Regions from separate parts of the Homo sapiens genome. Here regions 2, 3, 4, 5 and 6 are each linked to region 1. The links are contacts of gene promoters, found by promoter capture Hi-C in blood cells and fetal thymus (Javierre and others, 2016). All regions are on one chromosome and are shown on one strand. The core of a region is centred on a gene start or on the middle of the fragment in contact, and the rest is flanking DNA. Distances in the headings are between cores, read along the strand shown. Region 1 holds the start of OSGEP (O-sialoglycoprotein endopeptidase). Region 2 overlaps LOC124903282 (a long non-coding RNA gene). Region 3 holds the start of TRY-GTA4-1 (tRNA-Tyr (anticodon GTA) 4-1). Region 4 has its middle 3.9 kb from the start of OR6S1. Region 5 has its middle 4.0 kb from the start of TRT-TGT3-1. Region 6 overlaps RNASE11-AS1 (RNASE11 and RNASE12 antisense RNA 1).

Evidence for each region. Contacts are between HindIII fragments. The CHiCAGO score rates a contact against its expected background, and 5 or more counts as called.
Region 2: a fragment that was not itself captured here is called in contact with the fragment with the promoter of OSGEP in region 1 in 4 of 17 cell types (naive B cells, erythroblasts, total B cells and 1 more); the score reaches 7.7 in naive B cells.
Region 3: a fragment that was not itself captured here is called in contact with the fragment with the promoter of OSGEP in region 1 in 9 of 17 cell types (total CD8 T cells, naive CD4 T cells, naive B cells and 6 more); the score reaches 7.5 in total CD8 T cells.
Region 4: a fragment that was not itself captured here is called in contact with the fragment with the promoter of OSGEP in region 1 in 8 of 17 cell types (total B cells, total CD8 T cells, naive CD4 T cells and 5 more); the score reaches 8.0 in total B cells.
Region 5: a fragment that was not itself captured here is called in contact with the fragment with the promoter of OSGEP in region 1 in 16 of 17 cell types (naive CD4 T cells, megakaryocytes, naive CD8 T cells and 13 more); the score reaches 13.1 in naive CD4 T cells.
Region 6: a contact is called between a fragment that was not itself captured here and the fragment with the promoter of OSGEP in region 1, in 13 of 17 cell types (megakaryocytes, erythroblasts, M0 macrophages and 10 more). The highest score is 9.9, in megakaryocytes.

Annotation. Positions count from the first base shown.
Region 1 is chr14:20,452,712-20,457,625 of GRCh38, reverse strand. It overlaps OSGEP (O-sialoglycoprotein endopeptidase), which reads left to right and starts at 2,814. Exons shown (of 11, transcript NM_017807.4): 1 at 2,814-3,057. The coding sequence starts at 2,943. APEX1 (apurinic/apyrimidinic endodeoxyribonuclease 1) reads right to left here and starts at 2,400. Exons shown (of 5, transcript NM_001641.4): 1 at 2,232-2,400; 2 at 1,923-2,048; 3 at 1,525-1,712; 4 at 766-958; 5 at 1-635. The coding sequence starts at 1,980. The coding sequence ends at 118. RefSeq lists silencers at 242-536, 4,164-4,914, enhancers at 2,137-2,356, 2,777-2,866, cis regulatory regions at 2,418-2,423, 2,439-2,444, 2,457-2,489, 2,500-2,505, 2,502-2,543 and 2 more and promoters at 2,291-2,625, 2,290-2,827, 2,457-2,901. The HindIII fragment of the contact is 3,687 bases long and covers 2,295-4,914 here.
Region 2 is chr14:20,706,540-20,711,453 of GRCh38, reverse strand. It overlaps LOC124903282 (a long non-coding RNA gene), which reads left to right. Exons shown (of 2, transcript XR_007064061.1): 2 at 1-1,661. It overlaps EGILA (EGFR interacting lncRNA), which reads left to right and starts at 4,513. Exons shown (of 4, transcript NR_174964.1): 1 at 4,513-4,707. The HindIII fragment of the contact is 3,301 bases long and covers 772-4,072 here.
Region 3 is chr14:20,654,071-20,658,984 of GRCh38, reverse strand. It overlaps TRY-GTA4-1 (tRNA-Tyr (anticodon GTA) 4-1), which reads left to right and starts at 1,428; the gene lies at 1,428-1,521. It overlaps LOC124903281 (a long non-coding RNA gene), which reads right to left. Exons shown (of 2, transcript XR_007064059.1): 2 at 1-1,280. The HindIII fragment of the contact is 684 bases long and covers 1,838-2,521 here.
Region 4 is chr14:20,635,287-20,640,200 of GRCh38, reverse strand. No RefSeq gene overlaps it. Among named protein-coding and RNA genes, the nearest start is that of OR6S1, 3.9 kb to the left of the region's middle. The HindIII fragment of the contact is 1,027 bases long and covers 1,652-2,678 here.
Region 5 is chr14:20,615,398-20,620,311 of GRCh38, reverse strand. It overlaps the pseudogene RPS26P9. Among named protein-coding and RNA genes, the nearest start is that of TRT-TGT3-1, 4.0 kb to the right of the region's middle. The HindIII fragment of the contact is 1,926 bases long and covers 1,668-3,593 here.
Region 6 is chr14:20,593,840-20,598,753 of GRCh38, reverse strand. It overlaps RNASE11-AS1 (RNASE11 and RNASE12 antisense RNA 1), which reads right to left. Exons shown (of 5, transcript NR_122043.1): 3 at 1,935-2,078. Among named protein-coding and RNA genes, the nearest start is that of RNASE12, 4.9 kb to the right of the region's middle. The HindIII fragment of the contact is 1,307 bases long and covers 1,515-2,821 here.

The DNA of each region.
Region 1 (4,914 bases), core at 1,565-4,064:
AGGATTCCTAGTTTTATACATGAGAAATAGAATGCAGATTTCTCTGAAGAGTGTTTAAAGAAGGAATGGTAGTTGAGGGGGCTTATTTCCCAGGCTCAAAGTGATTTAGGGGTGGTGTCACAGTGCTAGGTATAGGGTGATAGGACAGTGATCACTGCCGAGGGCCTTGGAACGGATCTTGCTGTCACACAATGCAGGTAACAGAGAGTGGGACAACAAAAAGTAATCAAGGCGCCAACCAACATTCTTGGATCGAGCATTCATCATATAAGTCCAAAAGGTGTAGGCATAGGGTGTGTTGGGGTAGAGGTGCCTAAAGCTGTCAGCCAGTGGCACAGCCTGCAGTAATTCCCCGAAGCCTTGGCGCTCTTGTGGCGTGAAGCCAGCATTCTTTTTGTTCCCCTTGGGGTTGCGAAGGTCAATTTCTTCATGTGCCACATTGAGGTCTCCACACAGCACAAGGGGCTTTCGGGAAGCCAGGCCCTTCAGGAACTTGCGAAAGGCTTCATCCCAGCGCTGCCGGTACTCCAGTCGTACCAGACCTCGGCCTGCATTAGGTACATATGCTGTTACCAGCACAAACGAGTCAAATTCAGCCACAATCACCCGGCCTTCCTGATCATGCTCCTCATCGCCTATAGAAATGAAACAGAATTAGCATAAAAAACTATAAGAAAAGGGAAAGCAATCAAGAGGTGGGGCAGAGATAGAGAATTAGCAATTGGTTTTGAAGAGTTCAGGCATTAGGCATCAATAGGGTCTCACCTATGCCGTAAGAAACTTTGAGTGGGCACTGGCGGGAAAGCAGGCCCACGCCACTGTACCCTTCCTTGTCCGAAGGAGCTGACCAGTATTGATGAGAGAGTCCAGGCAGCTCCTGAAGTTCAGCTGGTAGTTTGTTCTCTGAACATTTGGTCTCTTGAAGGCACAGTATATCTGGGGCTTCTTCCTTTACCCACTGTAAGTGAAAAGAAAGGTGGAAAACGTATTATCAATTCAGCAGAACATTTATTGAATAATCTATATGCTAAGTCATAGATACGCACGGGTTAAACAGTCTCTTGGCCTAAGGAGTTCGAGTCAAGCAGCACAATATTCAAACAATTCTAAGCTAGATAAATGAAAACAAATATAGAGAGGTAAGAAAGTCTTACATGCTATGCCAAGGAGATGTGTTTTTTCTATAGGCAGTGGATAGCAAGCTAAGATTTTTAAGCTATGGTTAATGGAATGGAGGACATGCTTCATATGGAATGCAATGCAGGAAGATAAAATGGAGGAAGTATAGTGAAGAGGTTTTTGCAACATTCTGGGAAGAGGAGAGAACACTAAAAAAGAAAATGGCAATGGAAGTGAAGGAACAGACATTTAGGAAATACAACTGGCAAGACTGGGGAAGCCCCACAGAAAACTACGGGCAGGAGAAAAATAAAACAGCCTGAAGGCTAAACGGAGAAAAGGGGTGACTAAACCCTAAGACCATTCAATACTAAAAAATGTCTCTTTCCCTCAAATTCCACTCACATCTAATCCTTTCTTCTTAATCCAGGCTCGAAGCCCATCCACATTCCAAGAGCAGATCTTGAGTGTGGCAGGTTTGCCACTGGGTGAGGTTTTCTGATCTGGGGGGTCCTCATACAGGGCTGGGCCCTCTCCTGCTGCCTCTTTGTCATTTTTCTTTGCGGCCGTCTTACTCTTCTTGGCCTCTGGCTCTATAAAATGAGTAATATATACTGACAAAAAGCTGGTGGTTTCCAACTGCGATCCGGCGTTAACTATAGACCCAACGAAAGCCTACGGTTCCTGCGACTTCTTCACAAACCCCTGCAAAAATGAGTCGGCCCGTACTTACCGTACATCAAGGGAATGACAAACACCCCCGCCGCAGCTTCTAGGAAGAAGGGCTGATTTCATTCCCTTACCTGTCCTGAGCTCATCCCCGTCTTCCGCCACCGCTCCCTTTTTCCCACGCTTCGGCATTCCCGTTACGAACGCCCTTGGGCAGCTGTACCGCGTCACCCACCGAAGCAATATTTTTACCGCGTTGCCTACAGACGCAAAGAAATCATGAAACCAGCTAAGGCTGGGGAGAAGACTCCTCCCAAGAGCGTCCCCGCACCAGGTCCCGCCTTTCAAACCACGTTATCTCTAAATCCTTTCCCCGCCTCCGTGCATCATAGGCCCTTCAGCCCCTCACCCACGAAACTAGATCATTTCATAGTGCCTTGTACCCTACTCGCGAGATCTGCCCTCCAGCCAATTGAGGATCTTAATTAAGGGTCCTGACTCAAGCTTGCCGTTCAGACTGCCAGCGAAGCCCCTCTTATGAGCAAAAGAGCAACCCCGTATCTGCACCGGCCCGATGGCAGCCTAGCTCCTCCTAACCCGAGCACAAAGAAGGGTGCACGCTGAGCCCCCACGTGGGTAGCGGACCTGGTCACGTGATCAGAGGCGCGCTTGTCGTGGCCGAAGAATGCGCGTGATTGGTCTGTCTGACACCACGTGACGGAGACGCTTAGCCTCGCCTCCCTCCTCTAATTCTCTAGGACACTTAGGTCCCCAACCCTCCCTCGGGCTGTTTATCGTTGTGCCAGATGCACAGCACATTGTGTGACACTGACTTAAGATTCTAACTATGTGCAAGAGGGAAAAAAACAGTGGAGAAGGCTGGGCTGGACCACGGGAAAGAGATAGGAAAACGGATACGAATGTAAGGCACAGAGTTGGCTCGGCGTCCCTGGCAGTTAGGAAGACAGGTCCCTGGAGGGGCCTTGGCGGGTCTCCGCTCGCGGGAGTTCCGCGGTGTCTTTCCCAGTGCTATCTGCAGGCTGGCCAGCTTCCTCTGCGCTCCGGAAAGCTGCGGCCCAGCGCGGACTAGTGAGGACCTCCACAGCTCCTGACATTGCCAGGAGTCCTGTCGGCGTTTTCTCCCAGCCTCCGCCATGCCGGCGGTGCTGGGTTTTGAAGGCAGCGCCAATAAGATTGGCGTGGGCGTGGTGCGGGATGGCAAGGTGCTGGCGAACCCGCGGCGGACTTACGTCACGCCTCCTGGCACAGGTTGGTGAGTAGGGGACTTAAGAGTTTTCCGCGCACTTCCCCGCACAGAATCAGCCTTCCATCTTCCTAAATACTAGTGAGGTGCAGCTTTCGATCCGAGTCTCATTGAAATTATGTGACATTATTAACGTCACAAGGCTGATGACTAGAAGAGTTACAGGCACTTGGACGTGGATCTGATGAGTTCATTTACCTTTTACTGAGCGCATTTTATGTGCTAAGTATTCAGAAATAGATGTTATACTGCTGTGGAGTCAGACATATAAATAGATGTTTATACTACAGCATGATAAACAGTATAATAGAGATGGACTCGAAATATTCTGTTTAAAAAACGCTTAGCAGGAGTATAGATTCCAGTTGCCCTGAATATACACTCCCTTTTTAAAAAAAAATTATTTTTTGAAATATTCTAGGATGAGTAGAGAGATGAGAGTGGAAAGACTCCCGGCTTACATGTCAGACAGAACTGGCTGGCTTTGCTATATTCATATTAAATATTTTTGTTTTGGACATTTGGTCTTTATTTTTTATTTTATTTTATTTTTTTGAGACAGAGTCTTGCTCTGTCGCCCAGGCTGGAATGCAGTGGCACGATCTCGGCTCACTGCAATCTCTGCCTTCCAGGTTCAAGCGATTCTTCTACCCCAGCCTCCCAAGTAGCTAGGACTATAGGTGTGCGCCACCACATCCAGCTAAATTTTGTATTTTTAGTAGAGTCGGGGTTTCCACCAGGCCAAGCTGGTCTCGAACTCCTGACCTCAGATGATCCGCCCACCCCAGCCTCCCAAAGTGTGGAAATTACAGGCATGAGCCACCGCTCGGGCCTGGTCTTTGTTTTTAAAATGGGAATAATACCTGTATCATTAGGTCTTGAAGATTAGATGAAAGTACCAAACACGGCTGGGCGTGGTGGCTCACGCCTGTAATCCCAGCACTTTGGGAGGCCAAGGCAGGCAGATCACCTGAGGTCGGGGTTCGAGACCAGCCTGACCAACATGGAGAAACCATGTTTCCACTAAAAAATACAAAAAATTAACTGGGCGTGGTGGCGCATGCCTGTAAACCCAGCTACTTGGGAGGCTGAGGCAGGAGAATTGCGTGAACCCGGGAGACAGAGGTTGCAGTGAGCCGAGATGGTGCCATTGCACTCCAGCCTGGGCATCAAGAGTGAAACTCTGTCTCAAAAAAAAAAAAAGTACAAAACACATTACAACTTTTAATTGATATTTTAAATAAGCTATTATATCTTGCTACTCTCCCCTCAAACACTTGCATACATAGGAGAGGGCAGCTGACTTGCATGTATCTGAAAAGCCTCCCTGAACAGGTGATGTTGTGACAGATACTCACTAGAAATATATATGTATGTTTAGCATTCACTCCTCTGGGCACTTGGGCACTGGGAATACAAAGATAAATAAAATACTCAATGCTTTGAGATATTCATGATTAAGCTGAGCAAACCACAGAAAATTATAATGCTGTAATTGTTATGTTAAATAAATGACATCATCATGCATAGAGTTCTGTAGGGTCACAGAGAAAGAAGATCACCAAAGGCCAGGCACGGTGGCTCAGGCCTGTAATCCCAGCACTTTGGGAGGCCGAGGCAGACGGATCACGAGGTCAGGAGTTCGAGACCAGCCTGGCCAATATGGTGAAACCCCGTCTCTACTAAAAATACAAAAGTTAGCTGAGCGTGGTGGTGTCGCCTGTAGTCCCAGCTACTCAGGAGGCTGAGGCAGAAGAATCTCTTGAACTCAGGAGGTGGAGGTTGCAGTGAGCCGAGATCGTGCCACTGCACTCCAGCCTGGGTGACAGAGCTGAGACTGTCTCAAAAGAAAAAAAAAAAAA
Region 2 (4,914 bases), core at 1,173-3,672, 250 kb before region 1:
GATTGCTCTCATCAGGGCCTTAAAACAGTCTCAAGAGAAATGGGTAAACATTTACACCTACTCCAAGTATGCCTTCTTGGTAGTGTATGCCCGTGGGGTCATTCAGAAAGAAAGGGGATTCTTAACCTCAAGAAATAAAGACATTAAACACCTGCTGGAAATTTTAGCTTTGTCAGAGGCAGTTGTTCTGCCAACTCAAGTTGCTATTATGCACTGCCAAGGCCACCAAAAGGATGACTCCCCAATAACCAAAGGGAATCAAGTGGCTGATAAAGCTGCAAAGCAGGCCACTCAAGAAACATATTTACTTGGGACCTTAATACTCCATTTAAACTTGTCAGAATTTAAACTCCACTACACTGAATGAAATGAAGAATGCACACATGAGTGGACATTGACCAACACAGACCCTTGTTCCTCATGGAAAGCTAACACTCATGGGATATTACTCTCTGAGGCCCTGGTATACCCAGTCCTGAAAGACCTGCATGAGGGGACACACTATGGCAGAGATGGACTGGCTCACCTGGTGTAGCCATATCTCAAAGGGCCACACCTTCAAAAGATCATTCAAAAGATTATACAAGCATGTTATCTATATACCCCAAATGATTCAAGAACTGCATGCAACTCTTCCCAGAGGAGGATACAATACAAAGGAATATGACCATTCGAGGACTGGCAGGTTGATTTCACCCAGATGCCAAAAACACTGGGATTTATAAGTACCTACTAGTGTTTGTAGACACATTTTCTGGAAAGGTTGAAGCTTACCCGAGCAAGAGATTGAAGCCTATCCGAACAAGTCTGAGAAAGCTGCAGAAGTAGCTAAGGCTCTGCTAAAAGAAATCATTCCTCGATTTGGACTTCCTTACTCCATACCAAGCAACAATAATCCTTCTTTAATTTCTGAGATCACACAAAGGATAAGCCAAGCATTACAGATCAAATGGAAATGACACTCTTGTTGGAGGCCACAATCAACTGGAAAGACTGAAAAGATGATCCACATGCTAAAAAACAAAAACAAAAACAAAAACAAAACAAAACAAACAAACAAAAAAACCAAAAAAAACCCCTGGCAAAACTCTATCGGGAAACAGATTTAAAATGGTAAAGGGTTTTACCTATTGCCCTGCTATGGATTGGGGTAGCACCCTGAAGTGGGCTTAAATTAAGCCTTTTTGAAATTGTGTGTGGGAGACCCTTCTGAAGTTCTTGGCCAGGGACCCCACCCTTGGACTTAATAAATTAATCAAGAATTAAACAATATGTACAACAACTAAGACATAAATCACTAACCCTGCACAAGTTTGTTCTTTTTGTTCTTTCCAGTTTTATGTGTCTTACAAAAAAGCCCCTTCACCCTTTTCATCCAAGGATAAAGTGCCGCTAAAATCTTGGTAAAAACAAGGACTGGACCAACAACAGCCAGCCAAAAAGTGGACAGGTCATTATGATGTTTTATTAACTACTCATTCATCTGTTAAGCTGGCTGGAGTCAAACCACGCATACATCACATTTCGGTAAAAATCGCCCCTCCCCAACCTGACACAGCAGACAATCAACCTGGTTGGACTTGTGAGCCAACTGGAGAACTGAAGCTACTGCTTAAGAAAAATCTTTTTGTACTATAGGATTAAATTTCTGTTATTCTTTATCATAATGAGTAAACTTTTTTGACATCTGCTAAAACTAGTCTATTTCTACAGTGGGCATAACATTATGCAGATAGTCTACACTAAGATGCTTGCTGGGTATGTGGATTGCTACCCATCTCTAGCACTTCTGGGCTACTTTAGTGAGTATCACCCCTGCAGGGGACTGATTAGATACATTTACAAACGTATATGAAAAACTGTTCATGGGAAAATCAGGACCTTGGTAACTTAAGGTAATATTTTTTAAAAATGGCCTGGCATTAATATAACGCTTCAGAATCCAGATCCTGGAAAACTCTTCATTATAACCGGACTATCCAAAGGACCTCTGAGTATGCAATCCCTCTCTTAAAGGAGTTTTCCTAGATGGCCCCCAAGATTTTGGCTACTAATAACCATTACACGGTAGGTGAGTTTTTATCAAATTTGGGACGATTACCTCTGGATGATCTCCACTATTAGTCACTTAACCCAAATTGCCACTTCATGTTGGGAACAAAGGAATCACTCTTAGAATCATTGGCCGAATGTTACTAAAAATGTGGATAGGATGCCTCTACATCAATATGAACATTCTTTAGTGCTATATTAGACAAACCTGTTTACCACTGATTGGACACAGACCCAAAATTTGGTGGCTGGTCCCCAGTGGAACTCAATAGTTATGTGAAACTAATCTTCGGCCATGTCTACCTGATGGATGGATAGGGCAGTGCACGTTAGGACCCCCATAGGTCCGGGGCTGATTAACAAAAACCACCAGGCAGCCTGCACACTTTCCAGATGTGTTACACCAATGGACCAGGCCGGTTTTCCCTTCCTACGACCATCTCCTGTCCCTTGTTTTCCCCCAAGCAGGCTTAGAAAGCATCATCTGGCATATTGAGGCACTTACAAATTATAGCAAGTGCTGAAAGACACATTTAAGGGCATCTCATTAGTAACCTCTGAAATGACTATGATGGGAAAAGTAGTCTTGCAAAACCACATGGCCCTTGATGTACTCACAGCTGCTGGGAGGGACCTTGACCCATAATTGAAACTAAATGTTTTGTGTATATCCTAGGTAATTTGCGAAACATCTCCTTAGCCCTTCAAGACGTGCACAGACAAATCAATGCTATGTCTGACCCCACAATGTTCCTAAACCAGTGGTTATCTTCATGGTTTGGATACGGACCTACTTGGTGGAAAAAACTGCTAGTAGTTCCAGCTATGATTATAGGAATAGGTATATTCTCTATGGGTTATACTCTTGTTGCACCATATGTGTGATATTGCAAGATTGTGTTTTCCTTAATTGGAAAGGCTCCTAACTCCCAGGTCAATGATGCTGTAAAAAATCACTTCCATAAGTCAAGGAATGCATGAATACTTCCAACTCCAGGTAAATAAATTCCATTCTTCAGCTCCCTAGTGATGCCCTCATTCAGCAGGAAGTAGCTAGAAAGAAATTGACACCTGATCTCCCATAGAAATGAAACAGGAATTGGCAGTGGGGAGTTTGTAGCTGGAATAATCAGCCTGCTTCAATAATGAATAGCCTCACCCTTTGATTTATTCAGTATCTAGCCGTATCCTTGCTTAAGAAACCCAGGGGCTAATCTTGAAATAAACCGGGCATGAATTTGAGATTGTGGAATCCTACATTCTCAGAAAAATCACTGAGGGGGGTTAATCCATAAGCTAGTTGCAGTCATGGTGATGCCAGCCAGACCTCCAGGTGATCCGTTACTGAAGATAGCCATCAGAGTAAGACATGCAAACCTGCACCCTGCACCACTCCTGCTCATAGTTTCCATGCCTCCTACTTCTTAAAATCCCTTTAGCTAGCCTAAAATTTTGAAATAGTCTTTGAGGCGCTAGTCCACCATCTCCTCAGGTTGCTAGCTCTTGAATAAACCTGCTTTTCCTGCACCAACTCTTGTCTTGCAAGTCTTGCTTTTGAGCAGTGAGCAGTGATCAGCTGACCCTTAGTTTGGTTACACTATCACTCAGGAAATTCCAAGCATTTTAGAAGGTCTGTGGCAGGAACCAGGAACTAAGTTCAAATTTATTTTTTATTATACCACAGGTCCCAACTCCCATGACTACCTGGATGGTGACAAAGACGAATTATCTCTTCATCCTTCTTTCTCACTCTAAATATACACAGACATGCTATTAGGAGGGAAAACTTTCCCTCTACCAACTTTGGTTCAGTGGGTGGGAGCCTGTGAATTAACTATAGACAGGTTAGCAGGGGGAAAGAAAACAAGTTGTATTCATAACTTGTGGAAGCATTCAGATGAAGAGGCTTGATGAAGAGCTAGAGACAGAAGTTTAGTTATCAACTCATAGGGGAAAAGAAGGAGGGAGAAATGACTTCTATAGGAAAACAAATGACTTTTGGGAAAGACAAATAGAAGCTTTGGATAAAGTTTTACACAATTTTCTTGGAATATCTCCTGTCTGGGTGAAGTAATCCTCACACGGTTAACAAGAATCCTGGACAAAAATATAATTATGAGTAAGTGTTAATCAGGCTACACTTTGACCCACTTCCTTGTAACCAAAACTCACGAACACTAGCTACTGATAATTTGCATTCTCATTGTTCCCATAGATAAGATCTTTGACATTAGAATCATAAGGCTTTTGTTTAAGAATTGTTTATGCAGATCCTGAATTCCGGCAGAACAGCTGACACCACCAACTTTAAAGAGCCCAACTGATGAACTGATCAGCATGAGAATACTGTTTTTTCATCTCTCTGTCCCATGACTTCACTCTGCATTCTTCAACCAATTAGTGATCTCTTATTTCCACCTACTCCAAATCCTTAAAAACAACAGCCTCAAACTCTTTGAGGAAATGGATTTGAGGTTTCCTTCCATCTTTTGGTTCAGCAGCCCTGCAATTAAACCTCTTTCTCTGCTGCAACCCAGTGTCTTGGCATATTGACATGCTGTGCACATCAGGCAAAAGACCTATTACCATTACATGAGGACCCCTCCGGAGGGAGATAATGGTGGGGGCATTTCTGGGAGGCTCTGCTTTAGTCAGGTGAGAGAAGTTCAGGTAAGATTTCTTTCTGTATCTGCTGTAATTCAAATGTTTTCAGTTTTGTCAGTTTTGCCCTTAAACATGTGCACACACACACACACACACACACACACACACACTCACACTTCCCTTCTTAAGCAGCTAGCATCTTCATATATCTCTGCTCCTGTCATGTGCGTCCATGTGAAGAGACCACCAAACAGGCTT
Region 3 (4,914 bases), core at 930-3,429, 200 kb before region 1:
AACTGTTTAATTGTGCCTCTCAAACTGGATACTGCACATATTACTGCACATATCTTTTTCACATGGAAAGCAGCTCCTGGTATCCCGCCACCGCCTATTCTCCCCCACGTCACCCCGACTGTGTCAACCTTTCTTCTTTGGTGTCACCAGTGCTCTGGGATGCTTCTATGGCTCTGGAGGCACAGAGAGACCCCAGCTCCAATGACACCAAAGGCAAAGACCAGCTAACAAAGAGGGACCAAAGGTAGCACCTCAGGCCTTCATTGGATATATTCCTGATGGGGCGTGGAGTCACCAGAGCCCTTGGAACCTTTGCTCAGTGCTTTGGGGAAAAACCAGAGGTGAGCCAACAAATGGGTTTGGTGGCTGGCACAAGTGAAGGTGAGCCCAGGTGCCCACTCTTCCCAGCTGTGCCATGGCAGAGAGTAGCAGGATGTCTGTGAGGATCTGATCCTCACTCTCGGAGATCCACACCCACTTGCCATAAGACAGGAAGTGGACATAAACTCAATGGAGGCTAGGTCCCGTGGGTGTGGCTTCCTGTCCTCCTCTAGGTGTTCTGCTGCAGAGAGGGTGCCTCAGTGGTCTCGGAGTGGTGGGCACACACCAGATGGGATCTGAAACTTTTGTCAAAGATGTGGGTTCAGGATAAGGAGTCCAAAGCTCACACTTCTGTCCTCTACCTGGCTTCTTGTTTTTCAAAGAAACCCACAGAACTTTGCCCTACTTCAGAAATCAGCAGCTTCTGATTGGAATTCTCAGCCTGTTTGCAGAAGAGGGTATCTCACATGTGCCTCTGCAAGCCTGGGAGAGATTTCCTCACCTCACTTCCCAGTGCACCTCAATGCACCAAAATGTGAGCATAGACTACTATGAGGAGAAGGGCGGGGCACCTGGGGAGGAGGGCCCTGTGTGTGTGGTAGGGGAGGGAGTAGAGAGGCCAGACTATTATGGAAGCGCCCATTAGAGACCTGCACCAGACTCTGAGGTTGGGTTGGAGTTGTCAGCTGCCTATCCAGCGCCCATTAGGGTTCTCCTCTTTTCCTCCTCCAGCGTTCTCTCCCCGACTAGACCCACCCAACCACCTCGCCAATCCCTGTGCCCTCGCTGACTCACCTTCTCATTTTCTCTCAGGCCACTGGGGGCTGTCATCCTCACCTGTAGAAAGGTGGATGCTCAGGGAGAGGAAGGCTGTCACAGATGAGAGCTCCTCCTCGTGGATGGTGGCTATCAGAGCCCGAGAGACACCAGGCATCCTCGCCCAGAGGATTTGCTCCGCCCTGAAAGGGGTGTGGTGTCAAGCGGCGCAGGGTTCTCTTCCAAGGTGGGTGCCAACCAACCCAACGCGTATTGGACCTCAAGCATTCCAGGGATGTGGCTCCCTCTGTTTGCAGAAAGTCCAATGAACCAGCTTTGATAGCATGCATCCTTCGATAGCTCAGCTGGTAGAGCGGAGGACTGTAGATTGTATAGACATTTGCGGACATCCTTAGGTCGCTGGTTCGATTCCAGCTCGAAGGAAGTGCGTGATGCTTTTGGTTAAAAGCCCTGCAGCTTCCAAGTAGTAACCACACTCTCCCGGGCAAAACACCCACGAAGTCTTTCCTGATCACCTAGCTTCCCACGCCTTGCTTCTACTTTGTGACCCCACTAATCCCTCTATTCATGCTGACCACTACTTCCCCACCCTGTGCTCCTTCGCTTTTCTTCACAGACTGCTCTCGAGCTTGAGCATCTCCACTGGCTGTGACAAAACCGCTGTGCTCACCTTTGACAGAGCTCTCCTGACCAGGTGGGCAAAGCCTGGAAGGTCAAGTTCCCTGGAGAACGTCAAGCTTACTTGACAAGGGTGTAAAGTGGGGATAACCGTGGTATCTTCCGTGAAAACTCACCCTCTCACTCTCATCCATCTCAGGCTCTTTATCACTGCATTGAGATCTGACAGTCTCATGTTTGTCTCTGTCTCATTCTCTTTCTCTCTTTCACCGTTTCTCTGTCTCTGTATATTTCTCTTTGTCTCTGTGTCTCTGCCTCCCTATCTCTCTTCCCTGAGCCCTCAGCCTGCCCCTCTCATTCTCCTTGGCTGGAAATGTATAGACCTATACAGGCGTAAAGAAAATGTTCATTCCCACTTTGCTGTGTCTACTTTGGGGAGACAGCTGTCACCCTGAGAATTTCCTAATCCTAAGAACTTCCATTAGCAAGGTCAGGTTGCCCTTTAGGTTGAGGACAAGGTGAGTCTATCCCCTATCCCCATAGCTTTTCCCAAATCCCTCAAGCCTCACTTTTTCTGAGCCTTCACAACTTTTCATGCTGCTACAGCGGAGTTTGGCCCCTGCTAGAAAAGAAAGGACCTAATATTCAGTTCAAAGCCAGCAAAAACACCTGTGTTGAGTGCCCTGCTACTTGAGAGGGTAAGGGAGATGGAAGGGGAGTACAAAAGTGCAGGCTGGAAAAGAGCTTCAGTGATCCTGGAGAGTTAGAGGCTGTTGGGTCCATGGCAGGGAGCAGAAGTAAAGCTTGAGTGACAGCTGTCATTATACAGAGGCACACGAATTCGCTGCCTTAGGCCACTGCCTGGTGGGTCTGAGCAGTTTGGAGCTTTGGGACTAGAGGCACAGTTGGACTCTACCCTCACCCCAAAGGAAAAAGTGCTGAGGCCTAATCAGAGAGAATGAAGTAGGAAATGGACTTAGGTTTTCTCCAACGAACAGGGGTTACACCTCCAGGGAGATGGAGTGGGTTCTGTGGGTATGGGGCAGAGAAGAAAGCCAACAAGCGTTCCTTGGTCTCATCTCACCATCTCAGAAAAAATCTCCAGAGATTTGATGCGCACATGCAACCTATCACAGAGAGCACTCCAAGCCAAATGGCCCATGGGAACGTGGCCCTCTGAAACCCTCTGGGGACTGGGACACCTGCCTCCACTACCTGCTGTGGCCACAAGAGCTGTTTCATTGCAGGTCTCAAACTGAAGACTACACAGGTCTTTCTTGGGAAGCAGCTCCTGATCTCCCTCCACCTCCCTATTTCCCCCAATGTTCCCCTGGCTTTGTCAGCCTTTCCTGCTTCTCATTGCTAACAGAAGGAGGCCAAGCTGTGGCATCGCCAGTGCCCAGGATGATTCTATGGCTTTGGAGCCACAGAGAGATCCCTGCCTCCAATGACACCAAAGGCAGAGGCTAGCGAACACAGACGAAATGTAGTACCTTTGTCCCTTATTGGATAAGTTCATGATGGGATATAGAGACCCCCAGGTTCTTCGGAACCTCTGTTTAGTGTTTTGGTGGGAAAATCAGAGGTGAGCCAGTGAATGGGCTTTGGTGGCCAGCACAAGCAAGGTTGAAACCTGGGTACCAACTCTTCCTGTTTGAGCCATGACAGAGTAGCTGGGTTCTGTGAGCATCTGACCCTTGCCCTCAGAGATCCAGACCCACTTGCCATAAGACAGGGAGTGGACTTAAACTCAATGGTGGCCAGGTTCCTTGGATGTGGCTTGCTGCACCTCCAGTAGGTGTTCAGCTGGGGGGTGGGTGTCCCAGTGGTCTTGGGGTAGTGGTGTTGCGGGAAGTCAGGGACCCCAAACAGAGGGACCGGCTGAAGCCATGAGAGAAGAATGTGGATTGTGAAGATTTTATGGACATTTATTAGTTCCCCAAATTAATACTTTTGTAATTTCTTGTGCCTGTCTTTACTGCAATCTCTAAACATAAATTGTAAAGATTTCATGGACACTTATCACTTCCCCAATCAATACCCTTGTGATTTCCTATGCCTCTCTTTACTTTAATCTCTTAATCCTGTCAGTTGAGGAGGATGTATATTGTCTCAGGACCCTGTAATAATTGCGTTAAGTACACAAATTGTACAGCATGTGTGTTTGAGCAATATGAAATGTGGGCACCCTGAAAAAAGAACAGTATAACAGCAATGTTCAGGGAATAAGAGAGATAACCTTAAACTCTGACCGCCGGTGAGCCGGGGGGAACAGAGCCATATTTCTCTTCTTTCAAAAGCAAACGGGAGAAATATCGCTGAATTCCTTTTCTCAGCATGGAACGTCCCTGAGAAAGAGAATGCGCACCTAGGGGTAGGTCTCTGAACTGGCCCCCCCCGGGGCGTACCTGTCTCTTATGGTCGAGATTGCAGAGGTGAAATAAACTCCAGTCTCCCATAGCACTCCCAGGCTTATTAGGAAGAGGAAATTCCCGCCTAATAAACTTTGGTCAGACCGGTTGATCTCAAAACCCTGTCTCCTGATAAGATGTTATCAATGACAATGGTGCCAAAACTTCATTAGCAATTTTAATTTCACTTCGGTCCTGTGGTCCTGTGATCTCGCCCTGTCTCCACTTGCCTTGTGATATTCTATTACCCTGTTAAGTACTTGATGTCTGTCACCGACACCTATTCGTATCTCCCTCCCCTTTTGAAACTCCCTAATAAAAACTTGCTGGTTTTTGTGGCTTGTGGGGCATCACGGATCCTACCAATGTGTGATGTCTCCCCCGGATGCCCAGCTTTAAAATTTCTCTCTTTTGTACTCTGTCCTTTTATTTCTCAAGCCAGTCGATGCTTAGGAAAATAGAAAAGAACCTACATGATTATCGGGGCAGGTCCCCCGATATAGTGACACACACCAGATAAGATCTGAAACATTGTCAAACACATGGGGTCAGGGTAAGCAGTCCAACACTGACACTTCTGTCTTCTACTTCACCCATCCCCTATTTTTTTTTTTTTTTTTTAGACAGGGTCTCTTCTGTCACCCAGGCTAGAATTCAGGGGCATAATCATAGCTCACTGTAGCCTTGAACTCCTGGCCTCAAGCAATCCTCCCACCTCAGCCTCCCAAGTAGCTGGGACTACAAGCTTGTGCTACCACACCCAGCTAATTTTTGTAATTTTTGTAAA
Region 4 (4,914 bases), core at 916-3,415, 180 kb before region 1:
AAATTTCTTGATCCTAGATCATACCTAATAATAATAATACTTATTATTATTATTGATATATCGTGATCAATATCATCGCCACTTCCTAAGACCTTCCAACCTGTGAGTCTTAACCTATGGGTCCATGGTCATGTAGGGAATCTAAGGATGGGTTTCAGAAAATTTATATGCCCAATAGGTATCTAAATTTTATGTGCTTGAATATATATGCATTTGTCTGAGAAGAGGGACTGTAGCTTTAATTCAACATTTGAATCCATTCGTGCACTCTCCTCAAAAGCTAAAAACTGATTGCAAGTCTAAGTAGAGCCTTCCAACTGTTTATGCAAGTCAAGAATTTTAAGAAAAAATTCCTTATAGATATAAAATGAAATAAAAATAGATTATCTGTATATTTTTGTACATGCTTGTTAGAAAAATTTACATTTAATGCTAGAGGAAAAAGAGGTGAAGCAAATTTAATAAAGGGACTTAATTACTTCTCTGTGGTAATTCCAGGTGCTGTTGGGAAAGCAGATCAGTGAGGGATTTCATGAGTAATAGCATTTACTGTATTCTTCTAGTGTGCACTTTAGTACATTGATAAAGACATCTCCACTCGTTTTGTCATTGGATTATGTTTCATTCATTTGTTCATCTTTTTACATTCTTGTATCTGTTGTGTGAAATCTTCTTTTGTTTTTAGTAAAATAAGGAGCTTTAATATTAAAGAGTTAAGAATGCCACATAGGCTGGACACGGTGGCTCACGCCTGTAATCCTAGCCCTTTGGAAGGCCGAGACAGGCTGATCACCTGAGGTCAGGAGTTCCTAGACCAGTCTGGCCAACATGGCGAAACCCCGCCTCTACAAAAACACAAAAATTAGCCGGGCGTGGTGGCGGGCGCCTTTAATCCCAGCTACCAAAAAGGGTAATTTCATATAATTTCATTATATAAGGAGGCATTATATAAGGAGGCAGGAGAATCACTGAACCCAGGGGGCGGAGGTTTGCAGCGAGCCAAGATCGTGCCACTTCACTCCAGCCTGGGCGAAAGAGCAAAACTCCATCTAAAAAAAAAAAAAAAAAGAATGCCAAATGCCAAATATTGTTGTATCTACCAAGAACCAAACTTTGTAGTAAATTTTGTCTAGTTTATTGGACATTTGAAAAGGGATTCCTATTCATGGAAATCCCTTTGGAAATCTTGGAAACAAATATTTATTTATTTATTTATTTATTTATTTATTTATTTATTCATTCATTCATTCAGCAAAGGTCTGTGAAGAATCTTTGTTGAACACTGTGATATATGAATATATACAAAGATGAACAAGAATAAATTGTTTCTAACCTCAAGCAGCTTGAACTTTAGAGTTTAGAACTAAGGGACGGATAATAATTTAAGGAAATGTGGATGAGAAGGAGATTTACAAAAGGACATTGGAGATCTTATAAAAATTGGTTTACTCTTCCCAGTGCATTTTCTTGTTAGAGAAATTTTCACAGAGGTCATCATTCATTAAACAGGATTTGTCACGTTAGAGTGTGTGTACATAGGAACGATGTACAAAACATGTAAATATCAAGGTATCGACAGCATACTAAACTCAAAATAGTGCTGCAAAACTGGCAAAGTGCGTATTAGCGTCAAAAGAGTTAGCCATAAGCTTCAGTGGGCATGGAAAATAGAAATGTTTTTATCTAGTTCTATTCATAATGCATGCAAACACACTAGATAATTTTATTCCAAAATATTTCTGAGTACTAAAGGAATGGAAAGAATGATTCGAAGGTAAAAATAACTCTTCTGGAGTGATCTAGAAGTGTTGCCCAGAGAGGAGATGAAATATCGCCTTAAAAATTACCTAGTTTCATGAAACATAAAAATCTGAAGTCTATTCCAGCCACTGGCCAAGGAAAGGAATTCATGCAACAATTTACAGCATTTCTTGAAGTAATTGCCACATATTATGGCAATAAAGCATGTTAAACCATCCATTTTCAACATGTGTTTCATTGTGAAAAATAACTTTGGGCTCAATTTAATTCAATAAAATTTGTTGAATACTGTGTTCTAGGAAGTAAGTTGGTATGTTAGAGGTACAAATATTGGCCCCTGCCATCAAGGAATTCATAGACTTTTGGGGTAGACATAATACATATGAATATATAAATATATAATTTTTTTTCTGTTTTTGAGATGGAGTCTTACTCTGTTGTCCGGGCTGGAAACCAATGGCGTGATCTCAGCTCACTGCAACCTCTGCCTCCCGGGTTCAAGCGATTCTCCTGCCTCAGCCTCCCGAGTAGCTGGGATTATAGGCACGTGCCACCACACCCAGCTAATTTTGTATTTTTAGCAGAGACGGGGTTTATCCTTGTTGGTCAGGCTGGTCTGGAACTCCCGACCTCAGGTGATCTGCTAGCCTCACCCTCCCCAAAGTGCTGGGATTACAAGCGTGAGCCACCGCGCCTGGCTTCGAATTTCTATAAAGGTACCATGACAAGCGTCTTTATTCATACTATTATATGAAATAAATTTGCCTGAAATTTTGGTATGATGGTATGTGTAGATTGAGTGCGCATGTGAATGTGTGCATGCATATAACAGTGATACAAACTTGTGTGTCCATGAAAGTTTGTGATTAAATAAAAGAATAAATAAAAATCTGTTTATTGATATTTATTTCTAAGCTTTCCTTTCAAAGATCTTACCTTCATTGACATGAAATTTGTATTTTGTTTTTAAACATACAGTTAAGACAGAATATACTTAATTTAGAAGAAGTAGAAAATGCTTCTGTTTGCATCATTTTACATATAAAACTCTGAATAAGGCCAGGTGCAGTGGCTCACGCCTACAATCCCAGCATGCTGGGAAGCCAACAAGGGGGATTGTTTGAGCCTGGGATTTCGAGGCTACAGTCAGCCAAGATCGCATCACTGCACTCCAGCCTGGGCCAAAGGGTGAGACCTGGTCTCAAAAATTAAATAAATAAATGAAGCTCTTAATGACATCATTGATAATGACAATGATGCTAAACTCAGCAAGCATATGTTACTCTTTATACTTACCTCAGCAGAGTTTGGCACAACTGATCTTGTCCTCTTATTTGAAATAGTCAATGTGTTCTTTGTTATTTATTTATTTTATTTCAATTGTTTTGGGGGAACAGGTAGTTTTTGGTTACATGAAGTTCTTTAGCGGTGATTTCTGAGATTTTGGTGCACCCATCACCCGAGCAGTGTATACTGTAGGCAATATGGAGTCTTTTATCTTTTAGTGCCCTCCCACCATTTCCCCAAGTTCCCAAAGTCCATTATTTCCTCCTTATGCCTTTGCATCCTCATAGCTTAGCTCTCACTTGTAAGTGAGAACATACAATATTTGGTTTTCCATTCCTGAGTTATTTCACTTACAATAATGGTCTCCAACTCCATCCAATGCCATTATTTTGTTTCTTTTTATGGCTGAGTAGTATTCCATGGTGTATATGTACCACTTTATTTTTGTTTTTTTGAGCCGGAGTCTCACTCTGACACCCAGGCAGGAGTGCAGTGGCACGTTCTTGGCTCACTGTAACCTCTGCCTCCTGGATTCAAATGATTCTCCTGCCTCAGCCTCGCGAGTAGCTGGGATTACAGGCATGCACCACCATAGCTGGTTAGTAGAGACAGGGTTTCACCATGTTGGCCAGGCTGGTCTCTAACTCCTGGCCTCAAGTGATCCACCCACCTCCATCTCCCAAAGTGCTGGAATTACAGGCGTGAGTCACCATGCCCGGCCAATATAGCACATTTTCTTTATCCACTCATTTGTTGATGGACATTTATGTTGCTTCCATATTTTTGCACTTGCAAATTGTGCTGCTGTAAATAAACATGTGTATGCAAGTGTCTTTTTCATATAATGCCTTCTATTCCTTTGGGTAGATACTCAGTCGTGGGATTGGTGGATTGAATGGTAGTTCTACTTTCAGTTCTTTAAGGAATCTCCATATTGTTTTCCATAGTGGTTGTACTAGTTTACATTCCCACCAGCAGTGTACAAAATGTTCCTTTTTTTACCACATCCACCCCAACATCTATTATTTTTTGATTTTTAAATTATGGCCATTCTTGCAGGAGCAAGGTGGTATCTCACTGTGGTTTTAATTTGCATTTCCCTGATAATTAGTGATGTTGAGTATTTTTTCATGTTTATTGGCCACTTGTATATCTCCTTTTGAGAAATGTCTATTCATGTCCTTTGCCCACTTTTTCATGGGATTATTTACTTTTTTCTTGCTGATTTGTTTTATTTCCTTGTAGATTCTGGATATTTGAATCCTGTGTTGGATGCATAGTTCGTGAATATTTTCTCTCACTCTGTGGGTTGTCTTTTACTCTGCTGATTATTTCTTTTGCTATGCAGAAGCTTTTTAGTTTAATTAGGTCTCATTTATTTTTGTTTTTGCTGCATTTGCTTTTGGGTTCTTGGTAATGAATTATTTGCCTAAGTCAATGTTTAGAAGAGTTTTTCTGATGCTATCTTCTAGAATTTTTATGATTTCAGGTCTTTGATCCATCTTGAGTTGATTTTTGTATAAGATGAGAGATGAGAATCCAATATCATTCCTTTACATATGGCTTGCCAATTATCCCAGCACCATTTGTTGAATAGGGCGTCCTTTCCCCACTTATGTTTTTGTATGCTTTGTCAAAGATTAGTTGACTGTAAGTAGTTGGTTTTTTTTCTGGGTTCTCTATTCTGTTACATTGGTCTACATGTTTTGTTTTGTTTTACTGGTACCACGCTGTTTTGGTAACTGTAGCCTTGCAGTATAGTTTGAAGACAGGTAATGTGATGCCTCCAGATTTGTTCTTTACACTTAACTTTGCTTGGGGGCTATGCAGGCTCTTTTTTTGGATTCATGTGAATTTTAGGATTTT
Region 5 (4,914 bases), core at 1,381-3,880, 160 kb before region 1:
AGCCTAACCAACATGGTGAAACCCCGTCTCTACTAAACATACAAAAATTAGCCGGGCGTGGTGTTGTGCGCCTGTAATCTCAGCTACTTGGGAGGCTGAGGCAGGAGCATTGCTTGAACCTGGGAGGCGGAGGTTGTGGTGAGCTGAGATCGTGCCATTGCACTCCAGCTTGGACAATAAGAGTGAAACTCTGTCTCAAAAAAAAAAAAAAAAAAAAAAGCCATCCCCCTATTGGCCTGAGGACCCCTCTATGTGCTGTAAAATCTTGCTCAAAATTAAATACTATATTTAAATTAAATAATATTTTTGATGACTCCATCAGATAGTCAATGCTTTCAGCATTTATTGAACCCGACTTACTTAGCTCTGATATGGTTTCATATGGTTATCACATTGACCATCACAGTAAAGCAAAGTACTGTGATTGTACTTAGAAGTTTTCTATGCAGTGGCTCACGCCTGTAATCCCAGCGCTTTGGGAGGCTGAGGAGGGCGAATCATGAGGTCAGGAGTTCGAGACCAGCCTGACCAACATGGTGAAACCTGTCTCTACTAAAAATACAAAAAAATTTAGCCAGGCGTGGTGGCACACACCTGTAATCCCAGCTACTTGGGAGGCTGAGGCAGGAGAATCGCTTGAACCCGCGAGGCAGAGGTTGCAGTGAGCTGAGATCACACCACCGCACTCCAGCCTGGGCGACAGAGCAAGACTGTCTCAAAAAAAAAAAAAAGTTTTCAAAAGTAAATGCTCAAAGTAAAAAGAGGGAAGGGAAATTTCCTTATACTCAGCAGGGAGATTTAAGCCCCTTATTTCTAGTTTGTATTTGTCTTTACACTTTTCACTGAACTTCATTGGAGAGATGGGACCAGAGGGATTTCATGGAGTAATCCAGTGAAATCAATCACCTCTGCAAGCTTCAGGTGAAAAGAAATGCAATCTTTGAACTATGGTATGATCAACAGGAATGGAAAGGGGAAGGATATGAGGCATTTTTTATTCTTTGTTTCTGTCCATCCTTCTGGTATCATTGTCCTCCTTCACCTACTCAGTCCCCATAAATATTGTAATAGTCTTGGTGCTTTGGGTTTAAAAAGATCGTGTCTGATGTACAATTTAATTTCTTCTTTGATTTCCCTCTACTGCTTTTCCTAGTCCCTGACTTTAATTCCATAGTGTACCAAGTGCTCAAAACACAGTCAGCTTCTCAGTGAACACACAGGAGTGTTTATAATGGGTTTAAACATTTGAGGCAAGCCAGTGGGGTGCATGTGCCAGGAAGCCTTTTGGGTCTCGGAAATAGAATCTTGCCCACTTCACATCCACCAAATAAATCTGTGCTTATCATTTGATCAGGTTTGGGGAGGAGCAGAAGACAAACAAGAATATTATCCTTGCTCATTGGGAACTTGAATTTGAATAAAAGAAAATATCTTCTCCACCTTTTACAATATATACAATACAAACCTAGAAGAATGAACAAACACACAGAGACACACACTACAGTTAGATGGCAATACAAGTGGTAACTGATAATCACCAGAGTGAGTGTAGCCTCAGTTTCCAGAAGGTAAGATGTCTGTGGAAATCTGAAGAAAACTTTGAGAAAGTACAAATCGAGGCAAGTACGTGTGTGTGTGTGTGTGTGTGTGTGTGTGTGGCTAAAGCTTTGCAAACTCACGTTCCTTGATGTCTGAGATAAACAGTCTATGTATCTTGGAAACCAGTATGCCTGTCATAGGTGTTCGTGGATGTTGTTACAGTGAATAATTGGTTGAGTCCTGGTAATTGTGCCTACTTTTCTGGGATATAAATTCCTGACCTTTAAAAATATTCTATAGCCAATGAAGCTGAAAATTACAAAGTCTTCCCCAAAGGATGACATAATAGTTTCCTTTTCTGAACAGAAGCTCCTTGAAATAGTGCACTGTCATGTAAATAAGTATCAGTCATTAGACTTCATTCTTCCTGCTTGGTTTACTAGAAATTCAGTCCTACCTAGACCCTAGACAATCTATCCTGGAAAATTAGTAGTAGGGTCCTTGACAAAAATATTTAAGCTGAATCTAATCATGAGGAAATAAGTAAATATTGAACTGAATCTTATATGAGGAAATAATCACATTCAGAATGTGAGACTTCCTGTAAGACAACTGCCATGAGAAAAGAAAGTCTAAGAGGAGGGGAATTTTCTAGATTAAAAGAGACCAAAGAGATGTTACAACTAAATGCAGTGAGATATATTGTTAGAATTTACATTATTTTAATAGGGAGTGGGTAAGTGGGGAAATCTGAATATGGACTGTATGTCTACTAGCATATAAGGAATTATAAATTTTCTTGGGTGTGTTATGGTACTAATATTCTGCTCTTGGATAGTACATGTAAACAGGGGGAAGGGTAGGTAAGAAGGATGCAAATGTTCCTAATAATGGGTGTTCTAGTTAAAGGGTATACAGGTTTTACCGTACCGTTTTTTTAACTTTTCCCTAGGGTATTACTATACAAACAGACAGTGGCCAGAACATATATAAAAATAGACCTCTGACCAGCACTAACCTACAACAGCCAGTGCAGGAAGTCAACCCACAGTGACCAGCACAGGAAGCCAGCCCATTATCTCTCTCTCTCTTTTATTTATTTATTTTTTTGAGACGGATTTTCACTCTTGTTGCCCAGGCTGGAGTGCAATGGCACTATCTTGGCTCACCGCCTATCACTGGCTATCTCTGCCTCCTGGGTTCAAGCAATCCTCTTGCCTCAGCCTCCTGAGTAGCTGGGATTACAGGTATGCACCACCACGCCAGGCTAATTTTGTATTTTTAGTAGAGACAGGGTTTCACCATTTTGGTCACGCTGGTCTCGAACTCCTGACCCTCAGGTGATCCGCCTGCCTCAGCCTCCCAGAGTGCTGGGATTACAGGCGTGAACCACAGCGCCCGGCCAGTCCATTGCCTTTAAGCCAGACTTTTAGGAAGTCAGACCACTATCTCTAAGCAACCAGCCCAGGAAGCCAAACAATAACCTCTGTAAAAACCAGACCCAGTGGCTAGGAATTTATGAATAATTAACACCTTTCCTATTATTTGTTTCTGTTTCCAAGTTAGCATCAACCAGAGAAAGCCAAATATGCATCCCTAACCAATCACATAGGATGCCCCGCTTCTAGTTAGCCTGCCCACCGTGTCCCCATGCCACAGTCTCCAGTCAGGGCACACTTGAAGGCTTCCCTTTGTCCACTATAAAGTTTTCCCACTCCTCTGCTTGCCTTTGAGTCTCTGCCAAATCACAAGTGACGTTCTTTTGGGTCCCCACTTCCAAGATGGCAAAGAAAAGAAATAACAATGGTCATGCCAAAAAGGGCCACAGCCACGTGCAGCCTATTTGCTACATGAATTATGCCCTATGCCTACCCAAAGGCAAGACTATTAAGAAGTTCATCATTCAAAACGTAGTAGAGACTGCACCTGTCAGGGACATTTCTGAAGCTAGTATCTTTGACGCCTATGGGCTTCCCAAGTTGTTCGTGAAATTCTGTTACGGTGGGAGTTGTGTCATTCACAGCAAGGTAGACAGGAATTAATCTTGTGAAGCTTGCAAGGACCGAACACCGCCACCCTGATTCAGACCTATGGGTGCTGCCACATGACCCCTACCAAAGCCCATATAAGAAGGTGAGTCCTTAAGGATTGAAGAAAAACTCTCTCTAGAGAAAAATAATATGGAAATTATATTTTTAAAAAATCACAAGTGAAGGCTGCTAACTCCTTTGCTATAGAAAGCTCTGAATAGCTTTTGCTGGTTCTCATTAACTGGTGTTCATTTATTTCCACATTAGGATTAAAGTTTTTCCAAATGAAAAGTTGAGGGGAAATGGAAGAAATACAGACAAACAACAAAAAAAGCAATTAAAAATATTGCTAAGATTACAACTAGGGGTCAAGTTGCTCAGCAGAGGAAGTGCTCAGGATGGGCCAGAACACACTGGAGCACAACCAGGTTTGCTGATGCTAAGTCTAATAAACTAGTAGAAGGGGCTTTTGGAGTTTCGTAGCGTCAGACACGCCAACTCGAGTGAATTGTGGAGTAAGGGCCTGGAAGAATGAGAATGTAACATAAGGTCCTGGGACAACCTTTGATGGTAGGAAGTGGGCTGAATGTGGATAGGGTCAATTGGTCAAAGGTTTATTTGTACTGATAGAGGAGTGAGAACCCTCTCCGCAAAGCCAGCCTCTGTCTAGCAGAAACCAGAAACATCAGATCCATGGTTGTTGCCCTGGCTTCTCTCCTTGGAATACTTCTTTGAATATTTTAAATTATTATTATTATTATTATTTTTAGACTGAGTCTGGCTCTGTCGCCCAGGCTGGAGTGCAGTGGCGCCATCTCGGCTCACTGCAACCTCCGCCTCCCGGGTTCAAGCAATTCTCCCGCCCCAACCTCCCGAGTAGCTGGGACTACAGACCCGTGCCACCATGCGCTAATTTTTTGTATTTTTAGTACAGATGGGTTTTCACCGTGTTAGCCAGGATGGTCTCAATCTCCTGACCTCGTGATCCGCCCGCCTCAGCCTCCCAAATTTAAATTATTCTTAAATGAATAACAGTCTGTGGTTAGAAGAGAAGAAATCAATTCATGTAGGGAATAGAAGTGAGCTTGCCAAATTGTGACAGGGTGAGAATGAGGGGACAGGTTCTAAGAGAAGGTGAGGGGCCATCATGAATACCATCAGAGAAAGACAAGCAAAGAGAGGAGGAGAAACAGCAAAGAGGAAGAAGGCCGTTTGAGAGACAGTTTCCACTGCTTAGTAATTTTGCCTATGGCCAGTCTCTCTGAAAATAATAATAATGAAGATAATACTAACAATGATGATAATAATAAACACCTATTTTGAAAACAGGGACGTTGAGACCTGG
Region 6 (4,914 bases), core at 919-3,418, 140 kb before region 1:
AGACGGAGTCTTGCTCTGTTGCCCAGGCTGGAGTGCAATAGCGCAATCTCGGCTCATTGCAACCTCCATCTCCCGGGTTCAAGTGATTCTCCTGCCTCAGCCTCCCGAGTAGCTGGGACTACAGGCGCGCGGCACCACATCTGGCTAATTTTTTGTATTTTTAGTAGAGGCGGGGTTCTCCGTGGGAGTTTCTGTTTTTACCACATCTGGGTTCTTTAGGGCCTTCGTGATTATTTGGGATCAGGGGACATTTATATTATTTCAAGCCTGGGAGTGCTATGAAAGATATGAATGTCCGGGAGGTGCCATAGGGGAAGGCTGGCTAATGGTCCTTCCTCAAGGAGAATTCAAAGGGAACTTTTGAGGGCTGAGCCTGGGGACACACAGGAGAAGCCAGATAAGCTATGATCAAAGCATTCTCAGAAGTGGAAAACTGAAGGCACCGGCCTACCCAGAAGCTGTTAGAAAGACACACTTAGGTAACTTTCCCTTAGCCTGGTCTTCCTTGGGCTATTGCCTGGTGGCAATCATTTCAGAGACGCGAAGAAAGTTATAAAGCAAGAAATGACTTGTTTTTCCCCAAGGGAGAACAGGACCTCCTATGTGCATAGCACAGGGCTATAACTGCAGGGCTGAGACTGATGGCTTCGTCAGAACATGTCCTGCCCACGATCAGGAACAGCTTGTTCTGGACACACACAGGCCCCAGTCTATCTACTCCACCTGGACAAGGGGACAGGTGAGGTGGTAGGAGGGGGTTTGGAAGAGTGCCCAGGGGCTTATGAGGGTACCGCACAATCCTTCATTTCACACCTTGTCAAGAAAACAGCTCTGCAATTGCCAAAAGTAGACAATGAACCCTCCAGAGCAGGGGTGTCTCGTGCCTTTTTTCCCCAGTAGTAAGTGTTCCCGATTTAGGAAGGTGTCCCTTCAACCGAATGCCAATTCCTAGGCAAGTTCACAGAACTGCTCCACCACACTCATGAGTCAGCTCCCACTTCAGGGTCTGGTACCCAGGCTCCAGCTTCCCGGTTGCTACTGCTCCCCTGCACTCCAGGCTGGGAGGCAGAGACCACCTCCTATTCCCTCAGGGTGGGGGAAAATAAAACTTGTGGCCAGAGCATTGTCATCTTAAGAGAACAGCCATGGAGTCCATTTTAATTTAGCTCAGAACTTTAGTTTGTGAAAGCAGAGCGAGATCTTACAAATAATCAAATTCTTCCTTTATTCTTTCTTATTACCCCCATTTTAGAGTGGAAGCAATGCAGACCCTGAGCAGTGACATGACTTCACAGCTACTTACTGGCAGAAGAGGGGAAAGATCTGACATCTTTCACCCATTCATCCACTCCACAAACATTTTTTGATCTCTTCAGAAATACCAGGCACTGTGCTAGAGAGAACAAGAACATTCCTCTTGCTCTCCAGAGGCTCACAGCATGCAAGGAGAAGGCCAGATGAATCGCCTGTAGCACCACTTAGGGAGTTATGTGCTGGAACCACACAGAAAAGCTTCTTGTAGACACTCAAGGAAGAGAGGGGGGTGGTTAGTTTAAGAAGGGGTTCCTGGAGGGGTTGGTAAAGTCCCATGGCCTTTGCATTGCTCTTAGAAATATTTCTTGACATGTGAACTTGCATTGGGTGACTAAGAGTGTGTGTGAACCAGCCTAGATTTCCTCATGAGCAAGGCCTACTTCCACTGTTAGAAAGAAACTCAGGATATCACCTGACTCTTTTCATCACCAGAGTAGGAGGTGAAAATGGTTCGGGGGGCTCCTTAGTGAAAATACACAGAAAAGGAAAGAAATCGGTACCCAGTTCAGAGGCACTTTCAACCTTTTTGTCTTAAGAGAGGTGCTCAAAGTGCTCAAAGGTAGCTTCTGGGTGATAGAGAAGTAGGAAAAGTCTAGAAAATTGTGGAGTTAGGGGAGCACCTTTTGCTTTAAATGACCTTCCTGCATCCAAGGTCTTCCCAGCTCCTTCACTGCCAGTCACACTCCTGGGCCATGCTGCCATTTTGTAGATTTCAAAATTATTCGAAGAGTAGGTTTTAAATGTTCTCGCTATTAAAAAAGGATCTGCACTATTAAAAAAGTAATGGATATGTTAATTTGCTTGATATAATCATCCCACAGTGTACTATATATATCAAAACTTCACATTGAACCTCATAAATATATAAAATTATTATTTGTCAATTAAAAATAAAAATCTAAATTAAAAAAAAGTCTGACTAGATAACCTGGTGGGTATCCACTCCATAATATAGTTGAATTAGTTCTTAATATTTTCTTAAAGTGTTTTATGGTTTTAGAAAAGTATATATGAATAATTCTGAGTTTCTGAATGATAGTGTGAACAGAATCTGAAGTGCTCACCTTGAACTGTTAAGCCAAGAAGAAATCACTTTCTAACTTCTTTAAGTCACTGGATTACTGATGATGTCTTTGTTTTTTTGTTTTGTTTTTGTTCTTGTTTTTTTGAGATGGAGCCCCATTCTGTTGCCCAGGCTGGAGTGCAGTGGCACGATCTCGGCTCACTCCAACCTCCGCCTCCTGGGTTCAAGTGATTCTCCTGCCTTGGCCTCCGGAGTTGCTGGGATTACAGGCACACGCCACCATGCCTGGCTAATTTTTGTATTTTTAGTAGAGACAGGGTTTCACTGTGTTAGCCAGGCTGGTCTCCAACTCCTGACCTCAGGTGATCCGCCCGCCTCCACCTCCCAAAGTGCTGGGATTACAGGCATAAGCCACTGCGCCTGGCCTGATGATGTCTTTGTTACAGCAGCTTATCCTTACCCTGTGCACTCTTCCCAAAAGCTTCCAGCTGTGCATCCTTTCCTTCTCACTGGCCCCACATGAATGGGATTACCTTGATTGACTCAGGGCCCAGCAGATTCACACCCAGATCCCCAGCAGGTTCCCTTGAAGCTCATGGTTATGTGGAGAACTGGTACATTCTCAAACAATATTAGTGCTTGGTTAGAAAGGCAGAAAGAGAAAACCTGTAATGGCTAGGACTACTCTGATCATCCTATTTAAATTTGCACAACACCAGCTGGGTGCAGTGGCTCACGCCTGAAATCCCAGCACTTTGGGAGGCCAAGATGGGTGACTTGCTTGAGTCCAAGAGTTACAGACCAGCGTGGGCAACATAGCAAAACCCCATCTCTACAAAACTACAAAAATTAGCCAGGCATAGTTGTGCATACCTGTGATCCCGGCTAGTCGGGAGGCTGAAGCATGAGAATCGCTTGAGCCTGGGAGGCTGAGGTTGCAGTGAGCCGCGATTGTGCCACTGCACTCCAGCCTGGGCAACAGAGTGAGACTCTGTCTCAAAAAAAAAAAAAAAAAAAAAAAAAAAAGTGCACAGCACTTATTATCCTCTAAAACACTAAAGTATTGATTATGCTTATTTTTCATTGTCTATCTCCTTCCACCAGATGTAAATTCCATGAGAGTAGGAATTTAATTTTTAAAAAATACTTATTTGCAAATATACACAAAAGTAGAAAGAATAGAATAATAGATCCTATTACACCTCTCCTCCTAAAAGCAACAATTATAAAAAATTTGCCAGAGATTTTTTTTCTCTCTTCCCGTTTTCCTCCTCCCTTTTTCTTTCTTCGTTTCTTTTTGCTTTATTTCTTGGAAGAAAATACTTGACATCATGATATTTCACACTTAGAACTATTGAATATTATCTCCAAAAAATAAAGACATTTTCTACATAATTATAATTATTATATCTTATAAAAGTAAAATTATGTTCTTAACATAATCTAATGCCCAGTCCATATGCACATTCAAGTAAGATTCAAAATTTGAATATTCTTTTAATCTGTAACAGTTTATCCCTCTTTGTTTTTGTGTGATAGACTTTGTGAAGAAACTGGTAGAATGTCACATAATCTGGATCTGTCTTATTGCTTCCTTGTAGTATTATATAATTTGCACCTCTTTTCCCTAAATTTCCTATAATCTGGAAGCTAAATCTCAGGCATAATAAACTAATCTGCTCAATTATTTGGCAATACTACTGGGTAAACAGTGCTGTGCACGTGCTACAGTACCTTATTAGGAGGCACATCATAACTCACCTTCTACTTCTGTTTGGGTGGTGGCAGCTAGATCTTCCATTGCAAAGTTCCCCATAGCCTCTCTTTTTTTTTGTTTGTTTGGTTTTTTTGTTGTTGTTGTTTGTTTTTTGTTTTGTTTTGTTTTTTGAGACGGAGTCTCGCTCTGTCGCCCAGGCTGGAGTGCAGTGGTGCGATCTCGGCTCACTGCAAGCTCCGCCTCCCGGGTTCACGCCATTCTCCTGCCTCAGCCTCCCGAGCAGCTGGGACTACAGGCACCCGCCACCACGCCCAGCTAATTTTTTGTATTTTTAATAGAGATGAGGTTTCACCATGTTAACCAGCATGGTCTCGATCTCATGACCTCATGATCCGCCCTCCTCGGCCTCCCAAAGTGCTGGGATTACAGGCGTGAGCCACCGTGCCCGGCCTTATATAGCCTCTCATTTAATAATTTTACCACCCAGCAAATGCTTTTTGCCTGGCTTAATGATTTCATTAATGATTATAAAATTGCGATTTTCTAATTTTATTATTCTTTTCATATTTATTAGTTGTCATTGTTCTCTAAAGAAGAGCTTTTCCACAGCACATGGAAGCGATTTGGTCGCCCAGGAATATACTTCCTGAAGGAACGGCAGAATAAATGTACTAGTCTTATATTTTAATTACCAATTTTCATACTGAGGTACTGATTCAGAGTCAGTAGTGGGGAGAGGGACATTTGCCTTTTCACTGGTGTGTCCCAAGGGCCTAGAAGAGTGCCTGGCACAGGTAGTGTTTAATAAATATATGTTGAATTAAATAATATGTGAATGATAAAAGGCCCTTACAATAGG